6 separate regions of the Homo sapiens genome follow, and all the other regions are linked to region 1. The links are contacts of gene promoters, found by promoter capture Hi-C in blood cells and fetal thymus (Javierre and others, 2016). All regions are on one chromosome and are shown on one strand. Each heading gives the region's core, a stretch centred on a gene start or on the middle of the fragment in contact. The rest is flanking DNA. Distances are from core to core; before and after follow the strand shown. Region 1 holds the start of UST (uronyl 2-sulfotransferase). Region 2 overlaps UST (uronyl 2-sulfotransferase). Region 3 has its middle 130 kb from the start of UST. Region 4 overlaps UST (uronyl 2-sulfotransferase). Region 5 overlaps UST (uronyl 2-sulfotransferase). Region 6 overlaps SASH1 (SAM and SH3 domain containing 1).

Region 1 (2,939 bases), core at 200-2,699:
ACAGGCGGCCTCTCTCCTAATAAACCACACACACACACACACACACACACACACACACACACACACACACACACACACAAGTTTTGACTTGAGCTTGAGACGCACACAGCGCCGAGGATCCTCGGGTTACTGGGGGCGACACTGCTGGCCAGGCTGACCAGCGCCCTCGGGCATCCCCAAACCCCTGGATGCAACCCGTTCCCCGCGCCAGGCTAGCTGCGGGCGGCGGGGTGGGCAGCGGCAGCCAAGGGACAAGCCAGCCCGGGGACAGCGCGGAGCCACTAGGGCCGGCGGGCAGGCGGGGGATCTGCGGGACAGAATTCTCAGAGCGGACGGTGGCAAAGGGCTAAACCCACCCACACTCCCCGGGGCGCGGGACGGGACTGAACTGCGGTCACTAACAATGCAACGAAGAGGACCTTCCCTTCCCTTCGCCACTCCCCGCGCCGCCAGGCCTGAAGATACACACACTCCGGCACACCCCACACACCCATCCACTCCGCCCCAGTCCGGATCCGGGTGGCGGAGGTGGGGCGGGGGGAAGGTGAGCGGTGCCTCGCCCCGGGGTACCTGCCGGCAGCGCAACCCAGCGGCGCCCCCGCCTCGGTGAGGACAGTCGGACGCGCGGGAGGAAGAAGGCGCTCCCGACCGCGGCACAGATGCTCACGGGCTTAGCACCTGGAGAGACCCGGGGCGGCGGCGGCGCGCGGTGGCAGCGCGAGAAGTCCCCGCCGCGACCCTCTCCCCGCCGCACAACTTTGCGCTGTCGGCGCCGCCCTAGCGCCTGCCCAGCTTCCTTACCCAAGTACTGCCGCAGGTCGAGCAGGAAGCGAGGGGGTCCCCCGCTGAGCTGATAGAGGAGGGAGCCCAGGCAGAAGACCAGCAGGGTGGCCATGCAGAAGCCGTAGTCCCGGAGGGAGAAGCGCAGGAAAGGCAGCAGGGGCACCCGACGCTTCCAGCTGCCCAGGCCCGGAGGGGCGCCCCCCATAGGGGCCCCATGGGGCCAGGGATCCGCGCCGCCGCCGGGATGCTGCTGCTTCTTCTTCATCGCCTGCTCCGCTGCCTCCCACAGCCTGCCCGTGCCAGGAAAAGGTCACCCATCCGCCGCGAGGAGGAGAGCCCGGCTGGCCGGCTGCACATGGGGAGGGCCGCGCGGAGGGCAGCCGGGTGGGGGCGGGGAGGGGCCGAAGTTGCCGGGCTCAGGAGACTTTCTTCGGCATGGTCCCCGCCGCCGCGGCCCGAGCGGCCGAGGTGTCCGGCCCCGGTTCGGGGCGCTGCCCGTGACGGGGCGCCGCGCCCGTCCGGCGCCCGCTAGCGTCCCCACGCCCCGCGCCCCGCCGCGCCTCGGGCTCGCTTGCGGCCGCCGGGGCTCGCCTCCAGCGCCAGCGTGGACCCCCCGGCTTTGTGTCTGTAGGTCTCGGCGTGTTTTGTCCCGGTTCAGGCTTCTCTAAAAAACGGCAGGGAGGAACAGGAGGCGGACACCATCCCCTCGCTCCACCTCCTTGACAGGGGTTTTCCTCCTTCTCCTCCCCTTTCTCCCTCCGGCGCTCCGCAGCACTCTCCTCCCTCTCCCCTCCCTCTCCGCTCGGGTCTCGGGATTTCGCTCGGGTGTCACGTTACTGCTTCTGCTGGGGGCGGAGGGGGGGAGGCGGCGATTATTCGCAACAAGGAAGAAAGTTTCTGGGTGTTTTCTTTTTTTTTCCTTCCCCCGTTCTTTACAATCTGGATGCGGTTCCTGCGCCACCAGCGACCTCTTGGGGGCCCCGCTGACTTCCCTCTTGTAAACAGTCACCGGCAGGAAGAAGCACGACTGACTTTACTATTTACATTTTTTTCAGTTCAGAAAGTTGATTCTCCTTATATACCCCGTGCGAGCTGCTTACCCAAGGCTGATAAAAGGTACTAGAATACAGGCTCAAGACTTTGCTGAAATGGGAAAAGAGCAAGCGGTGCGAGTTATGGTCAAACACGCCCCAGAGGGCCAGGCGCAGCGCCTGAACTCCCGGGTAGGGTAGCCGAAGAGGACGCTCTGTTCTTGCTTTTCCTGGTCCTACAACTGCTCCACCTCGCAGTGCCCAGAGAGGCAAGTGGGGGGTGCATAGCGGACTCTAGGAGGTCATTGCCCTGCAGACATGAAGGGGAAAGAGCCCAGTCCGCCTATACGCTGATTTCATTGCTGCCTCTCTTCCCTCCACGGGAAAGCCTCTGGACCTGAAAGAACCTCCTGGGGCAGAAAAGGCTCAATCCTAGACATAGATCCTCTGATGGGGTGGTTGATCCACGGAAGGGCTGCTCTGATCAGCCACACTTTAAGTAAGAATACTATATCACTATTTATAGAAGCTGTAGCACCTGAGGGCTGTGTGACTCACCCGAGGTCCCAAAGCTAGTAGTAGGAGTTGGGTTGGGAGTTGCACTCAAATCTATTTGACCCTCAGACCCACTATACTAACCACTGCACAGCAGTACTTCCCAGCCAGAGCCCTTTTCCTTCACGTCCCATAGGAGGATGAGATTTAATTCATTTAGTTCAGGCCACATTGAGAAATGGAAACCTCAGTTTCTGGTGCCTATCATTTCTGGCTCCCTACTCATTTGTATATTCCAGTAATGAACAATTGGATTTAAGAAGGAACCAGGAGCCAAGAACCTCTATGATTCTAAGACTAGGCTCCTGAAAACCTTCATCAAGTTAGGCATCTGAAGAATATTCTGTGGAAAATTACAAAATATTATCCTAGACAAAGAACTTACTCGTTAAGAATATGTCTTAACCTCAGCTACTCAGGAGGCTGAGGCAGGAGAATCGTGTGAACCCGGGAGGCGGAGGTTGCAGTGAGTCGAGATCGCGCCATTGCACTCCAGCCTGGGCGACAGTGCGAGACACCGTCTCAAAAAAAAAAAAAAAGAAAGAAAAGAAAAGAAAGAAAGAAAGAATG
Region 2 (3,273 bases), core at 441-2,940, 230 kb before region 1:
TCTAGTCTGCATTTATTACAATTTGTTAAATGTGGTCACTGAGGAACTGACTGCCAGGGAAACCACACCCATGGGAAAGGACACAAGACAACATCCAGTCCAGAAACCTCAAGAAAGGACACACTTGAATTTACTCTGGTGACACAGGTGGTTGACAATGAAGCCACTCTGGAAGTGGTGGGTTATCAAAAAGGACACGTAGGTTACAGGTGCATGCGGGGCCGAGGGGTGTTAATATGATAATCTTTGTCTTTTTCCTTAGGTTTTTCTATTACTAGTTGTTGAGACTGATGCTGCTTATATTCTCCCTGAGATGAAATCCCAAAGGATCTGGATCCTAGACATCATACTCTAGTAGAATAAAAGTAGAAATGAGCGAAATTTGGCAATTAGCAATTTAACTTTTACTTCAATTATCTGACTTCTATGAGAAACCAATTTTTTTTTAAAAAAATTTTTACCTTAAGTTCTGGAATACATATGCTGAACGTGCAGGTTTGTTACACAGGTATACACGTCCCATGGTGGTTTGCTGCAACTATCAACCTGTCATCTAGGTTTTAAGCCCCGCATGTATTAGGTATTTGTCCTAATGCTCTCCCTCCCCTTTCCCCCCAACCCCTGACAGGCCCCGGTGTGTGATGTTCCCCTCCCTGTGTCCATGTGTTCTCATTGTTCAACTCCCACTTATGAGTGAGAACATGCGGTGTTTGGTTTTCTGTTCTTGTGTTAGTTTGCTGAGGATGATGGTTTCCAGCTTCATCCATGTCCCTGCAAAGGACATGAACTCATTCTTTTTTATGGCTGCATAGTATTCCACGGTATATATGTGCCACATTTTCTTTATCTAGTCTGTCACTGATGGGCATTTGGGTTAGTTCCAAGTCTTTGCTATTATAAACAATGCTGCAATAAACACACATGTGCATGTGTCTTTACAGCCTATGTAAAGACTATATACTATAAAATGTATGTGATGTATAATCCTTTGGGTATATACCCAGTAATGGGATTGCTGGGTCATTTTTATCAACATTATATTTAACACTGTTCTAGAGATACAACAAAAACAAATGGATAAGAGTTATAAAAACTAGAAAAAAGAAAGATAAAATTATCACCTGGGGATATAATTTTATCTGGTAAACTGAAAATAATCTGTGAAAATTTCTTGACAAACATAGAATTCACTTACTAAGGTGACTGAGTTAAAGGTAATATATAGAAATTAGTAACAGTAATAATATGTAAAATTACAACAACAACAAACCAAATATCTAGAAATCAACTTAAGAAATGTGCAAGATCTAAATGAAGAAAACTTTAAAACTCTGGAGAGATATAACAGAAGTTCTGAGCAAATGGAAAGGCAAAATACATTCTCAAATAATAAGACTCCACATACAGACGTCAATCCTCCCTACCTTAATCTAAAGCTCAAAGTAAACCCAACACACAGGGTATTCTGGGTATGAATGTGGGGTGGGGGTAGCGGACGGCTGAACAAGCTGATTTTCTTTTCTTTTTTTTTTTTTTTTTTTTGAGACAGATTCTCACTCTGTCATCCAGGCTGGAGTACAGTGGCGCGATCTTGGCTCACTGCAAGCTCCACCTCCCGAGTTCACACCATTCTCCTGCCTCAGCCTCCCGAGTAGCTGGGACTACTGGCACCCGCCACCTCGTCCGGCTAATTTTTTTGTATCTTTAGTAGAGACGGGGTTTCACCATGTTAGCCAGGATGGGCTCGATCTCCTGACCTCATGATCCGCCCGCCCTGGCCTCCCAAAGTGCCGGGATTACAGGCGTGAGCCACCACGCCCGACCCTGAACAAGCTGATTTTAAAGTTCCTAAGGAAAAATGAACAAAGACAAAGACCTAGGACAATTGGGGAAAAAGCTGAGTAAAGAGGAAAGACTGGACCCTGCCAGATAATAAAATGTATATATAAATAGTCACTCTATATTATATAATTATACTATTGCATATTACATAATAAAACTATGTATTATGTAATTATACAATAGGTTACAACAGTGTGTATATATATAAATATATAGAATAGTGTTCTGTATATAAAGATACACATTAATGGAACAAAATAAAAGCCAAAAGAAAAAACAGATCCCTCTAAAACCAAGAATTTCTCATATAATAAAGGTGATACTTTAATGAGGAAAACACAAATTATTGTATAAATGGGATAGTTTGTTAGCCATCTGGAAAAAAAAGAAACTACATTGATATGTTATACCTGACACCAGAATAAATTTCAGAAGTATTAAAGATTTTAATTTAACATGAATAACAACAAAACTCTAGAAGACACCATGGAGAATATTTTTTATAGTTTCAGAGTTAATAAGATCCTTCTGAGTATAACACAAAACTCAGAAGCCATAAAAAGAAAAAGGTTGATAAATTTGACCACAAAGAAATAAAATTCTGCATGTAAAAAACATCACAAAGAAAGTTAAAAGAGATTACTAACTAGGAAAACAATACTTGCAATTTATATCAAAAATAGTGGGCAAATTTCTGTAATTTTCTGAAAAGTTTCTAGAGATCAGAATGTTAGCAAAATGGGCAATGATAAGATGAGAAAGGAAAATACAAATGCCTCTTAAACATGTGAGAAGATGCTCAACTTCACTCATAACGAGAGAAATGCAACTTATCCTACTGACACATAATTTCTCATCTCTCAGCCTGGCAAAGATAAAAACGTATGATGACATGGTGTGCAGGTGAAGGGCGGAGGAATTGAATGATGCACAAGATGGACCACGCTCCCGGAATCCTGATACCAGAAATACATGGACATGTCCATTCTGATGTACCCTTGACAGCAGAGTATGAATTGGAAATGTGCTGGAGCCAGATAGTAACAGCTTATAAGAGGCAAATGCCCATCTCTTAACTCTGCTGTATTCAGTGATGTCATGTTCGTAGTTTGAAATCACCATGGTGAGAAGTATTGACACCACAGAAATTGGCAAAGTTACAAAACAACCCCCCACCCCCGCCAGAGGTGGTTATTAAACATTTATGAGCATACCACTACTTATAATTTCTGAAGTCTCTGCCAGTTTAATACCTTAAAAGTGACATATTGCTTTAATTTGCAGTTCAAAAATTATAGATGAGGCTGAGCATTTTTTAGATTATCCGGAATTTTACTTGTAATTTTTCAATGGGGAATTAGTCTTTTTTTTACTGATTTATAAGACTTCTTATATCTTAATATCTTTAAGAATAAATTCTTTGTCATATTT
Region 3 (3,100 bases), core at 51-2,550, 130 kb after region 1:
TAATTGCTTGCTTAAATCTTCATTCTTTACATGTTCTTCTTCTTCTGCTCTGTTCCCTGGACACTCGTGAGGCATTGGAAATTGTACAGCAAGCAAGAACCTGTAGAGAAAAGGGACAAGGAGCCGTGGGAATAAAGTGGCCAACCACAAAATGATCATGATACTTGATGACAAAGGAAAAGGGACAGCTCTACAGGAGATGAAAGAAGATTCCATCCAAGCTGTGGAAACCTTATGAGCAAGAGGAAAGTCTGTGAATACAAGAAATATGGCAAGCCTGAAGCCATATCTGACACATGGAAAGTGGCCATGGCAGGCCCACAGTGGCCGAGTGGCATCCAACTGGCCAGGCTTCACTCACTCAGTCTCAGCAGCCCTGCCAGGACCACGGAAGGTGGCTAAGGATGGCTCTCCAATCAAAGCTCACTGGATTGTCAAGAAATAGAAACCCACTGAAGCTAGCTCAACTGCAGAGGAGATTTATGACACTGAGATGCGTCTTGGAATCTAAGGTTGGTAAACAAGATACAAACCCTGACTTCTAGGATCTGCAAAGCTTCCAGGAATAAAATTTCCATTTGTCTGTGCCAGTGTGGCCTCTTCTCTTGACTTCTCACTCTATGCTTCCTCCACCCCCTTCTCTCCACAGGTTCATTTCCTCATCAGGCTCCATGATATTCAAAATGCTCACTCTAAGTCTGAGGTTCCCATGACTTTCCTGCTTCTAAGCGCTCTTGACTGATCAAAGTCTCTGTATAAAATAGTTTGAATTTTGAGAAAATGAAAGAAGGAGAATTAATTCTTCCTGGGAGACTTGGTAAAATCTTCAAAGGAGCTGATTTACTGCTATGCTTGGAAAAACATACTGAGTTTTTACAATAGATAAGCATGGAACAGCCTTTTTTCAAAGCATTTTGATATTTGAATCTCCCAACAGTGCCATGAAGTATGTTGAGCAGATTATTTATATTATATAAAAGAGAAAACTAAGTCCTACAAAAGGTAAATTAATTGACCAAGGCCATGTAGCCAGTGTGGGATAAATTCCAGACTAGATCCAAAGTTTTCTGACTTTTAATTCACTGCTTTTTCTATTTGTTCATGTGTAGACATGAAAGAATGGGTCTCTTTCATTGCCACTGATAAAATAAAAACTTCAGCTGAATTAAATTTAAAAGAGTTCAATTGAGCAATGAAAGATTTGTGAATTGGGCAGCCTCCTGACCCAGAGTATGCTCAGAGACTCCAGTGCAACCATGTGGTGGAAGACAATTTATGGACAGAAAAAGGAAAATGATGTACGGAAAAGGGAAGTGAGGTACAGAAACAGCCAGATTGATTACAGTACACCGTTTGCCTTATTTGAACATGGTTAGAACAGTCAGCTACATTTGATTGGCCAAAACTCCATGATTGGCACAAGTGTGGGCTACGGTCTGTGTACACCTCCATTTGTTATAGTTCATGATGCACAGAGAAACCTTTAGGCTGAACTTAAAACATTGTCAGGAGGCAGCTTTAGGCTAAACTTGATTTAATACTATCAATAGCCCTAGAACTGGGACTGATACTACTATAATTTTAACTTGCCTTTCTCAAGTTCAATCTCTGTCACCTCCTTTGCAAAAACTCATATATTTGTAGAACATATCTGTCCAACTCATGATGGGAAACCAATGCCATATTTAAACAATTTGATTTGGGAAGAGTTTAATAAAGAGATTATTTAGAGGTGCAGGCAGGGTTTAGGGGAACCAACAAAGAATAGTGCAGGATTCCCAAACTGGCAACAGCACAGATCCATCATCACTACCCCTTGGTCTGAGGGGCAAAATGAGAGCCGAGTCACCAGAACATCGAGAGGGTAGCACGGAGAAGTCACCTGGTAAAAGCTGTGGCTTTCACAGAAGGACGCAGCCAACCCCTGCCAACAACCACCCTCTCTTCCAGCTTTCAGAACTCCTGCCAGTGGGCCCACTGATTCATTGGCTGATTCCACTGGAAGCCAGAGGGTATGGGGAATCCTTGTTGACATTAAGCTTCCTAAGGCAATAGAGAGAAACTGAGGCTGGAGAGGCAAATGACAAACATCCAGTACAGGGAATAAGGGGAGAAATTCAACATGGGAGGCCAGGCGTGGTTTCTGATCTGTTTTGTGTCACTCTCCTTTCTCACCCACACAGGCCTCTAAAACTGCACTAACACATGCATACACACACGTGCACACACACCCCATTCTCCTTCTCCTTTCCTCTTGCTGTTTCCTTTTATATTTTGGAAATCTGACCATTCAAGTCAGTGCCCTGGGTTTTCAGCCAGGAATCCACTCCAGGTCAATGGAGCCAAATCAACTGGTCTCTTGGTCATTGCAAGTCCTGAACTGAACTTGAGGATGCATGCCTGCCAAGGTGAAGGATGAGTTGCAAAGGAAGCACTTATATAATTCTATAGTATTCCAAACCCCGTCCTTTTCAAGACCTTCTTGGTATTGTCAGAGTGGCAGCTCTATGGGATCATTTTGAGGAAAACATCTTGGCGATCCAGACTGAGGTTTTTCATAAGCTCTGGCTGGGTGAGCCAGTGACACCATTGTGGACCAGCTGCAACCAATCTGCTGTCTTCCATGCCAGGCCGAGGGGCTAAGGTGGGCCAATCTGAATTTGTTATGACAGATCAGTGCATCACAACAGTCAAAAGAATGCTCTTAGAGGGCACAACCTGGAAATATTATCTTTCTTCTTCTTTTCTTTTTTGTCTGTTAATGTAACTGGGCATCCAAAAGTTTGTTTTTGTGGATAAGTAATTCCTTGATTTATTTTGCTAACGAATGAAGTTTGCCTTAATTTCCACTTCTGAAAATTTCATAGAGAGATGAATTATATTTGTGACCTTATCCAGTGACATTTTTCCTCTCAGAGTCTTGATAGGAAAGGCAATTTTATTATAAGATAGAAAAGTGACAGTTTAAAAGGGATGGGAAGGTAGTGGTATTTATTATATATCATGATTAATTTTACAATATCTGATACTTTAACAACTGTGTGCCCATTAGAGTAAACCAAAATATTATTATTATTATTATTATTATTATTATTTTGAG
Region 4 (3,185 bases), core at 314-2,813, 140 kb before region 1:
TACCACTCATCAATAATTTTAATGTTACTGCAGTACAGTTAACAGCAGCCACCCTTGATTTAATGTTTATCGCATGTCAGTGTCAAGTGTTCATCATACATCAGCTCATTCAATCATTTTAGGCATCCTGTGCTGTAAGCGGTATTTTTAGTCCCACCCTGCACATGAGAAACTGAGGCTCAAAATATTAAGTAATTCATCCACTGTCACACAGCTAGAAAGTGGCAGCGTCAGTGTTGAATCCAGAAATATCTTCTTCCAAAGTTCATGCTCATGAATGTGGGGGTGGTCTAAACATACTTTGGGGCTGATTTGTTTGGATCTGTGTCCCCACCCAAATCTCATGTCTAATTGTCATCCCCAGTGTCGGAGTGGCCTGGTGGGAGGTGACTGGATCATGAGGGTGGATTTTCAGGGTTTAGCACTATCCCCCTTGGTGCTGTCATGGCGACAGTGAGTTCCTGTGAGATCTGGTTGTTTAAAAGTGTGTGGTACCTCCCCCAATCCCTCTTGTTCCTGCTCTGGCCACGTAAGATGCGCCTGCTTCCTCTCTGCCTTCCACCATGATTGAAAGTTTCCTGAAGCCTCCCCAGAAGCTGAGTAGATGCCTCTATCATGCTTCCTATACAGCCTGTGGAATTTTTTAAATTACCCAGTCTCGGGTATTTCTTTATAGCAATGCAGGAATGGACTAATACAGGAGTAAATTTCCCCAAAGCCTCTAAGGTTGGGGGTTCATTATCTTCTCACCGTGTATTTACAACTGCATTTTGTAGGCATCACCTTAAGTGGTCAAAGACTAAGAAAACAACCAAGTACAGGGAGAGCTAGAGTGCTTGTATCTACACTTTAAGATTTCACAGGCCAGAAAGAACATTCTTGAAGTGACAGATAGAGGGTTGCCAACTTCTTATTTTGCCAAGCACAACCCCTTCCCAAGTACTGATCAACAATCCCCATCATTTCCTAGAAGGAAAAAAAATGATGTCAAAAAAGTACAAGGGACATACGGTTAGAATAAAGGGTAATTGCATTGCATGTATTTTCTTATATACAATGATCAATTTGTTCTAGTTTGCTCACTTTTCAGTAGATTAGCATTCGGTTTTCATTGAGCTCAAGAAAGTAAACAGTGTTAGGGAAACTATACTAAAGGATTATTCTGCCCCTTAAGTCAGACAAAACTGCTTACAGGAAAAACAAAAGTGGACTCACAGGCCAGGCCAGGGCAGCCTTGAGGTGGTATTGGCAGGGCCTCAAGTGGAGTATCCCAACCCAGTTAGGCTGGAGAGAACAGGACAGATGTGAGTCTAGCCCCAAAGCCCGAAGGCATGGGGAGGCCGGGTGTGGCTATCACACTGTGGGCCAGCATCGATGCCAAGGCAAATGAAAATGAGGTGCAAACAGGAGAAGCTGCCAGAGGTCTGAAGTCAGTCTCAGGCTCCAATGCCTGGGCAGCAACAGCCACTGATTCAACAATGGCTCCTTCTCCCTGTCATCTGGGCTATCATCATGCTTTTCTGCTTCCTCCTTGTTAGAAGTTAAACATCAATTTCACATATGTCATCTACTGTTTCTTGTGAATGATTCGTGTCCAGGAGAGATCTGTTCTGCTTGTTGGAGGCTGTAAGTAAGATAAAAGAAAAAGGGGACTTATATCACAAGCAAAGATCTTACCTTACTAGGAGGTGGTCCATGGTCATCCAAGTAAGTGGAATTTCCTAGAAAATAAAGGAAAAAGTTGATGAATCCGTTTTTTAAATCCCAAATGAATTTAGTGCAAAGTTATTGAAGATAAGCATTCTAGTTATACAGTATTTCTGCTCAGACAACAGTACCAAAGAAAAATGGGGAATTAATCACTGGTTTGACTGGATTTTGCTGATATTACTATGTTTGATTAATAGTTTCAGCTGTTACAAACATTCTACATACATGGTTATGTATGCACACAAACATACATAACACACACAGTAACACGCACCATTATTCTCACCCATTATCTGCTGAGTTTAGCTTAGACCATTGGTACTCAAATGTTATTGTACTTCAGAATTACCCGCAGGGCTTGTTGAAACAAGACTGCCCAGCCCCAGTCTGAGAACCTGCATTTCTAACCAGTTCCCAAGAGATACTGATGCTGCCGGTCCTGAACCCCATACTCTCTTTCTCCAATTTGTCTTAAAATTGTCTGTTTCTCTTCTCTCTTCAGGCTAGCTTGCTTCCGGAGCTTGATTTGTCTTCACTAATAGCCATTTACTGGCATGTGTGTATTCAGAGTGCACGGCTATTGTTTCCTGATGAATAAAAGACTCAGAGGGATTTGGAAGGGAATTAAAGTTTACTGACTTCCTTTCAGTAGCAGCTACTCTGCTAAGTGCTTTACAGGTATTTATCTATTTAATGCAAATACCAGAGATGGATTAGAAGTGTCCCCTTTTAACAGAGGAGAGAACAGAGGCCTGGAGAAACTCAGTAACCTATGCACAGTCACACAGCTGGTAAACTGCAGAGAGGAGAGAAGACTGGTTTTTCCAGAGCATGTTCAGGCATCTACCCATCTGAAAAGCCTACCTAGAGTCCTTCCTGCCATCTCAGGCTTCTGTGTGAGGCAGGCACTGTAAACATTACCATCTGGAGACATCTGATCACCTGGGGAGCCAAAGATGCAATCAGTATAATCGAAGGCGCCTATCCAAGAGGGGTAACTCTTGTGAGTCTAGGGAAAATCATCTCACCAGAAAAGTAAAAATGACCAAACAAGCTAATGGAATGAAATGTAGAAAATCATGGAACGGAACTGCAAGAATACCTCTAGAGAACAGTAGATGATTGGGGGATAAGGTCAGTGTCTTAGTCTGAGTGGATGAAAGGTGCTTTTGACAGCAGAGAGCAAAAATGACTTAAGAAACTGGACTAAGAAGGGGGAAGCAGGGCTTAAGCCAGGGACAGTTGAACTGGGGAAATGTATCCAAACATAATAAATAAGCGGGTTCTGGCTTATAGGTTTTTCCATACTGAGTCATCATCCTTCCCCTTTTCTTTGTCATCTTCTGATTTATAGCCCACTTGGTGTTCACAGTGGCCATTTGTATATAGTAAAGGAACATCAGGGTCCAGTTTTAGTGTATAAGACACTTAAACACAAACACCCAGCATGCCCATGATTGGGCTATTTTAGGACC
Region 5 (2,894 bases), core at 169-2,668, 250 kb before region 1:
AGAGGAAATGCTGAGTGTAGAGGCATGGATAACCTGGGATGTAAGGAGTGAAACTTGCAAAGTTAGAGGAAAGAAGTTGAGTAAGATGTCAAGTCTGTGCCAAAGCAAGGTCACATGTTTAGAGAAACGTAATCATTTTTGCTCTATATGTCAGAGGGTAAAGGACAATGCACAGTTTAAGTCAGACATCAAACAGCATTATTCCTGAGGGTTCTTCTTACAGACCCTGTGAGACACTGTTACATCATAGCAGTGAGTTTGTCTTAATGGTGTTGCTTTGAGTCTATTATTAGTGTTGCATGTTGCCAAAAGTTCCAATATTTGAAGTATGCCATGAATATAAAAAGTTATAATCTTTGTTCTACATATTCTGTATCAGAATTATATTCTAACCTAGAAGATTTGCTTCTCTGTATTACGGTATCCACCCAGTGCCAGATAGGTGTTCTATTATAGTTTCTAAAAGTGGTCTTTGAAGATAATGAAATTTTTATTTGAATTATGCTATGCCTAGCAAATCACCATGGAAGTCTGGGTGTCTAATGAAAGATTTCAGATGATACTACTGTTTTTCAATAAACAACATCATAAAAATTTCACCAGTAAAGTCCAGAATACAAGTACCATTAAATTTTGAACAAAAAGTACTTAAGTGTTCATATAGATAAAGATATATCATTGTTGATACTTTTTCTTGCTAGATATCTGCATGACTGAAATGACATTATATGACCTATAAACTACTCCCTGCTGGAAAAGGTGCATTCCAGATGCGGGCTCCACTCAGAGGAATAATGACTTCGGGATTTTGCATCTTGGTTGTCTGTGATTCTCATCTCTACAGCCCAGAAGGAGCCACATGGCTGGATCTCTGCCACTGGCTGACTGCTGTGAGTGCTGCAAGTGCTGCCTTGGTTAACCAGGCATGCACCAGCCACCTGGGCTGCAGTGCTATGCTGCTTGCTGCATTCAGACCAGCACATACATGGCAGCAGCCTCGGCCTATAAGGGGCTGCGCTGATTATATTCTGAAGCATACAGTCAATGGGACTATCTATCCTTCTAATATTGACTCATCTTGAGATGCTGATGAAACTCTTAAAATAAGCAGGAGGTCGGGTTTATGGATGGGCCCGCATCCCTACCCGCTACTTAGCCACACAGAAAATGGAGAGATCACCATTGTGAGTTTTCTCTAGGAGGGGCAGTGTGATATTATATGAATGCACTGCCAGTGCATCCTATGGGGGCTACAATTTTGCTATTCTCAAGCTTAAAATAATCATGGAAATATATTTTAACTTTTTTGTGCTCTGCATGTAATACCAGAAGGAAAAGGTGTTTATAAAACGTAGGCCAGAGATCAGAAGGAATACGGCAGATTTTGGTGAAAAGTTGAATTATGAGGTGGAGACAAAAGAATCATTCACCTCAAATCTGTTCATTTCACCTGTTATAAGAAGCCCACAGCATAGTCCACGTCTCCACAGTTTAGTACTTCCTGGAGGCAGTACTGAACAGAAAACTCAAGCTCAAACATCTTCCCAGCCAAAATGAAGCTTTGTGACTGTAAGAATGGCAGGAATTCCTGAGAAACCAAGAATGTTCTTTAAGGGATTTATACCATAAAAGTTATTTATGGCCCCTTTGGGCCACACAAGTTTTGAAAAGCCACAGAAACTGTCTTAGCCTCAGAATTTTGATGATTTTGCCTTCTTAGCTGAAGAGGTTCAGAATTTCGTTTTCTTTCACATGCAATAGTCTAATAGTTTTGGCTTAAGAACGCAAAACAAACCACAAAAGTCACACTTTCAACCTCTGGTTATCCAGGGTATAAACAGCATGTTTGTGGATTATTTTTTAGGCCAGCCCACAGCTTCTCCTTTCTGTGCTCCATGATCCTGACTTAGAAGGTCATTAAGGACTCGTAATAAGTTCAATAAAGAGATGCTGAACCTAAATAAAATAATTATTTTAAATTAACAGGGAACTTCGGTTTCTCAAGATCCTAGTATCATGAGTGACTAAGAATTGTCTGTGAAATGGAGCTTCACTGGACTATTCTCTTTTGTGAGTATTTAAAATTTTCCATAATGTTATAAAAAGCAAACAAAAAAATCCCAGAAAAAATAAATGACTATTAGTATAGTGTGTTCCCCAGTGTCTGTTCTCATCTTCAGAGGATATGAACTGGGGTTTATGTTGGTTCACTAAATGTATATATCCTAAGATGTACCTGCATATAATAAAAATATTAGAGAACATTCTGTAAGGAAGCTCAATTTTTTCCTGCCTTCATTTTCCCTTTTTCTAATTCATTTTTTCATTCATCCATTCATTCACTCATTCATTTTCCATCTGTCTCACTCTAAAGCTTCTTGGACTGTGTTTTCAGTGGGTCAGGTTCTTTATGAATCCTCAGACCTTTATAATTTTCCATCCTAAGTTTGCTTAGAGATCTCATTTCTGACCCTTTCATTGGTCCTGCTTCCTGGATTCTTTCTCTTCTAAAATAAAACATGACTACATGGAATCCAAGAAAAAAAGCTACGAAATCAAGCCCCTTTATTATGCTGGTATTTGAGATTTCTCTCACAGCTTTCTTATAGAATGTTCCCTATTTTTATTATATGCAGGTACATCTTAGGATATATACATTTAGTGAACCAACATAAACCCCAGTTCATATCCTCTGAAGATGAGAACAGACACGGGGACTCCAAAAGCAGGGAGGGAGACAGCAAAGGCTGCAAGCCTTCCTACTGGGTACTATGTTCATTATCTGGTGCCAAGATCAACAGAAGCTCAAACACATGCAATACACCCTTGCAACAAACCTCCACATATACAACCTGAATCTAAAATAAAAATTCTAATTAAAAACATAAAAAATA
Region 6 (2,954 bases), core at 97-2,596, 200 kb after region 1:
GGTGGTGTCATTTAGCTGTATAATATTGAGCAAGTCAATCATCCATATGGACTCAGATTCTTCATTTGAAAATGATAATCTTAGACTCAAGATGACTTCCAAAAAATATCTTGCTGGTCTAAGGTGCTATCATTATATGACTCGATTATGCATATTTGAAAATAAAGCAATAAAGTGGCAAAGAGAATCTGGGTGGATGTCAGAGGGTGAGTTCTGGTGATGGCAGAATTGCAGACAACTACAATTTTCCCAGTATATTTCATTATTTGACCACTTTATAAATTCCTTTTCATTTCTACTCCATTCATCTTTAAAATACCCAAGAAACAACAAAAAAGGCATATTCAACTGAAGAAATTTATTTACTTTTTTCTAGGTACATAGATGACATAATTATAGACAAGTTTTGATACATAGGAAAACCCTTCCGTCCACCTCTCTTTATGCTAAATGAATCATCACAATAATTTTTACAATTTTTAAAACAATACACAGCTTTCTTGGGCTGAAGCAATTGCAAGAACATATTGGTACTGGTATATTACAGCTACTTACAATGTTTTTAAGAACAGCAATGGAGAAAAATAAGTTATTTAAATATTGATTTCATATACAGAAAGTGCAATGTTGTTAGTTGTTATATAACTTGCTCGACAGTTTCTTTTCTCTATCAATTTTAAATCAAGATAACTTGGACTCAGACTATTATATTTTTTTCTGAAAATAATACAGTACACACATGGCAGCAGTGACTTGGCAAGTTGACCTTTTTTGCTGCAGTTATGAAAGCAAACTTTACTATGTCAGGAACTGATTTCCAATAGATTAGTAATTTCCAATTTCACCCATACCTGGGGGTTCAGGACAGAGAAAAGGGCCTCTGACTAAGGCAAGGCCATGAAACAATATCTTAGTTATCTGGGTACATAAATAGTACTAGCTGGAGCTGACTGCATTTCCTTCCAGACAGCTTTGAAGTGAAAATCATACACAATGTTATGTGTAGCTACCTGAGCCGAACTGCCTTTCCAGGTTTCTTTTGTGCTTTCCAAAGACAACAATTTTCACCATTACTCAAAATTCTGTACCAAATGCAACTGATTAAAACTGGATATTCCTGAAGCCTACCACCTGTTCACTAATGTCCACAGGCAGCCCCAATCCACCTCAGTCAAACGTCACACCCAAACATTCAGCTTTTCTCAGACCAAATTAAATGTTTACAGAAAAAAAAAAGACCAAACGCTAAAGATATTTTTAAAATATTTAAACAACACAATAAAGTAAAAACAACCTCAGACCCCTCAGACTAGACATTCCCACTGAAAATTCTTTGTGGTCCCTGAATTTGATTTTCTATGCAAAGGCATTGATTTCCAAAGAAGTGTGATAAAAATGTGGTTTGGCATTCTCAAAAACTCCAGAAAGTTCCCTCTTCTGCTGCGACTTTCACTGAAATGAAAATCCTTCATGGAGAACGAATTAAAACTTGGAAATTCACATGAGATTTCTCTCGCTCCTTTGTTATCTCATCTCTTACACAACTTTTGTGTGGTTTTTTGCTCAGCTTAAACAATGACAGGATCTGTCCAAATGTCAAGCCGAGGTATTTTGAGAGCAGGAAGAGAAGAAGCCTGTCTACAGCACCCACATCCACCACAGCACGTGAAATGCATTGAACGCTTTAGCTATACAAGAACCCTGCAGCTTCATTACATTGCAAATAGGCTAGGCCACAACCCGAGAGGACAAACAAACATGAGCTGTTTTTAAGAGTTCAACAGAAATTTGGCAGCTTTAGCTTTTTATTCTACATTTCCACAACTTCTTCACATGGCATCTTATAGAAGATGAAAATTAATTATTAAAGAAACATGCATTATTTTTTAAAAATGCATACTAATGCATGAAAAAAATACATCACCTGAGAATGTCTTTTTCCTCAGAAACATGGATCCAGACATAAGCAATATGCTAAAGATGGCTTTCTAATTAATTTATGAAATCACTTCCCCTCCAACCCAAGGGAAATTATTTGTTTTAATAAGTAGATGAAATATTATAAAATGTTCAATCAAGGGCTTGTGGTCAAGGTGTTTCTATTATAAATGATTGACCTTTATATTTTAGATGATTGCATTTGATGCTTAAAATAGTGTTCATGATAAGAATGTAAAGGAAAATCATTTTGTAAGCAATGGAAACCATAATAGTTTACTTGTTTAAATTTACTGTTTGCTAGAAAACCAGACACTAGACTAAAAGAGGACAGAGGCCAGGTGCGGTGGCTCACACCTGTAATCCCAGCACTTTGGGAGGCTGAGGCGGGTGGACCACCTGAGGTCAGGAGTTGAGTTTGAGACCAGCCTGGCCAACATGGTGAAACCCTGTCTCTACTAATAATACAAAAATTAGCTGGGCGTGGTGGTGGGTGCCTATAATCCCAGCTACTCGGGAGGCTAAGGCAGGAGAATCACTTGAACCTGGGAGACTGAGGTTGCAGTGAGCCAAGATCGTGCCATTGCACTCCAGCCTGGGTGACAAGAGCGAAACTCCATTTCAAAAAAAAAAAAGGATAGAATGTGCTGAAATCAGTTGTAAAACAATTTAAAGTAGCAAATACTTAACACATGGCTAATGAGATTTGTCTGGTTCCATAGTGAACCTTTGTTTAAATTAAAAGAATTATCTAAATAAAAAAAGAAGGATAATAATAGTATTAGTTGTAATACTGAAAAGTCTTTTAGAAAACATCTTATACATGACTTCCCTTATTAAGGACATCTTTCTGAAATATGCAGCCTCACAGTGACCTTTTGCAAACATGATCCGTTAACTGAGGACTGAATTTTGGGATGGACATGGTCAGGATTCCAAGTCAATACTGCAGCGCGACGATCCACACAGTAACGATACTAAACTGGTTAAAACCAAAAGCAGTCACTATGAATACA

What was found. Contacts are between HindIII fragments. The CHiCAGO score rates a contact against its expected background, and 5 or more counts as called.
Region 2: a contact is called between a fragment that was not itself captured here and the fragment with the promoter of UST in region 1, in 4 of 17 cell types (total B cells, naive B cells, total CD8 T cells and 1 more). The highest score is 9.0, in total B cells.
Region 3: a contact is called between a fragment that was not itself captured here and the fragment with the promoter of UST in region 1, in 1 of 17 cell types (monocytes). The highest score is 6.1, in monocytes.
Region 4: a fragment that was not itself captured here is called in contact with the fragment with the promoter of UST in region 1 in 2 of 17 cell types (naive B cells and total B cells); the score reaches 7.3 in naive B cells.
Region 5: a fragment that was not itself captured here is called in contact with the fragment with the promoter of UST in region 1 in 7 of 17 cell types (total B cells, naive B cells, M1 macrophages and 4 more); the score reaches 13.4 in total B cells.
Region 6: a fragment that was not itself captured here is called in contact with the fragment with the promoter of UST in region 1 in 2 of 17 cell types (naive B cells and monocytes); the score reaches 5.4 in naive B cells.

What each region holds. Positions count from the first base shown.
Region 1 is chr6:148,745,540-148,748,478 of GRCh38, reverse strand. It overlaps UST (uronyl 2-sulfotransferase), which reads right to left and starts at 1,449. Exons shown (of 8, transcript NM_005715.3): 1 at 802-1,449. The coding sequence starts at 1,048. LOC124901425 (a long non-coding RNA gene) reads left to right here and starts at 2,880. Exons shown (of 2, transcript XR_007059806.1): 1 at 2,880-2,939. RefSeq lists enhancers at 1-312, 1,621-1,700, 1,761-1,820 and silencers at 491-660, 961-1,050. The HindIII fragment of the contact is 11,485 bases long and covers 1-2,939 here.
Region 2 is chr6:148,976,021-148,979,293 of GRCh38, reverse strand. All of the region lies in intron 5 of UST (uronyl 2-sulfotransferase), which reads right to left. Among named protein-coding and RNA genes, the nearest start is that of UST-AS1, 13 kb to the right of the region's middle. The HindIII fragment of the contact is 5,795 bases long and covers 1-3,273 here.
Region 3 is chr6:148,613,036-148,616,135 of GRCh38, reverse strand. No RefSeq gene overlaps it. Among named protein-coding and RNA genes, the nearest start is that of UST, 130 kb to the left of the region's middle. The HindIII fragment of the contact is 1,483 bases long and covers 559-2,041 here.
Region 4 is chr6:148,885,522-148,888,706 of GRCh38, reverse strand. It overlaps UST (uronyl 2-sulfotransferase), which reads right to left. Exons shown (of 8, transcript NM_005715.3): 2 at 1,678-1,721. Among named protein-coding and RNA genes, the nearest start is that of UST-AS1, 78 kb to the left of the region's middle. The HindIII fragment of the contact is 5,578 bases long and covers 1-3,185 here.
Region 5 is chr6:148,996,909-148,999,802 of GRCh38, reverse strand. The region is part of intron 5 of UST (uronyl 2-sulfotransferase); the gene reads right to left. Among named protein-coding and RNA genes, the nearest start is that of UST-AS1, 34 kb to the right of the region's middle. The HindIII fragment of the contact is 287 bases long and covers 1,275-1,561 here.
Region 6 is chr6:148,549,434-148,552,387 of GRCh38, reverse strand. SASH1 (SAM and SH3 domain containing 1) reads right to left here. Exons shown (of 20, transcript NM_015278.5): 20 at 344-2,954. Among named protein-coding and RNA genes, the nearest start is that of UST, 200 kb to the left of the region's middle. The HindIII fragment of the contact is 3,763 bases long and covers 1-2,954 here.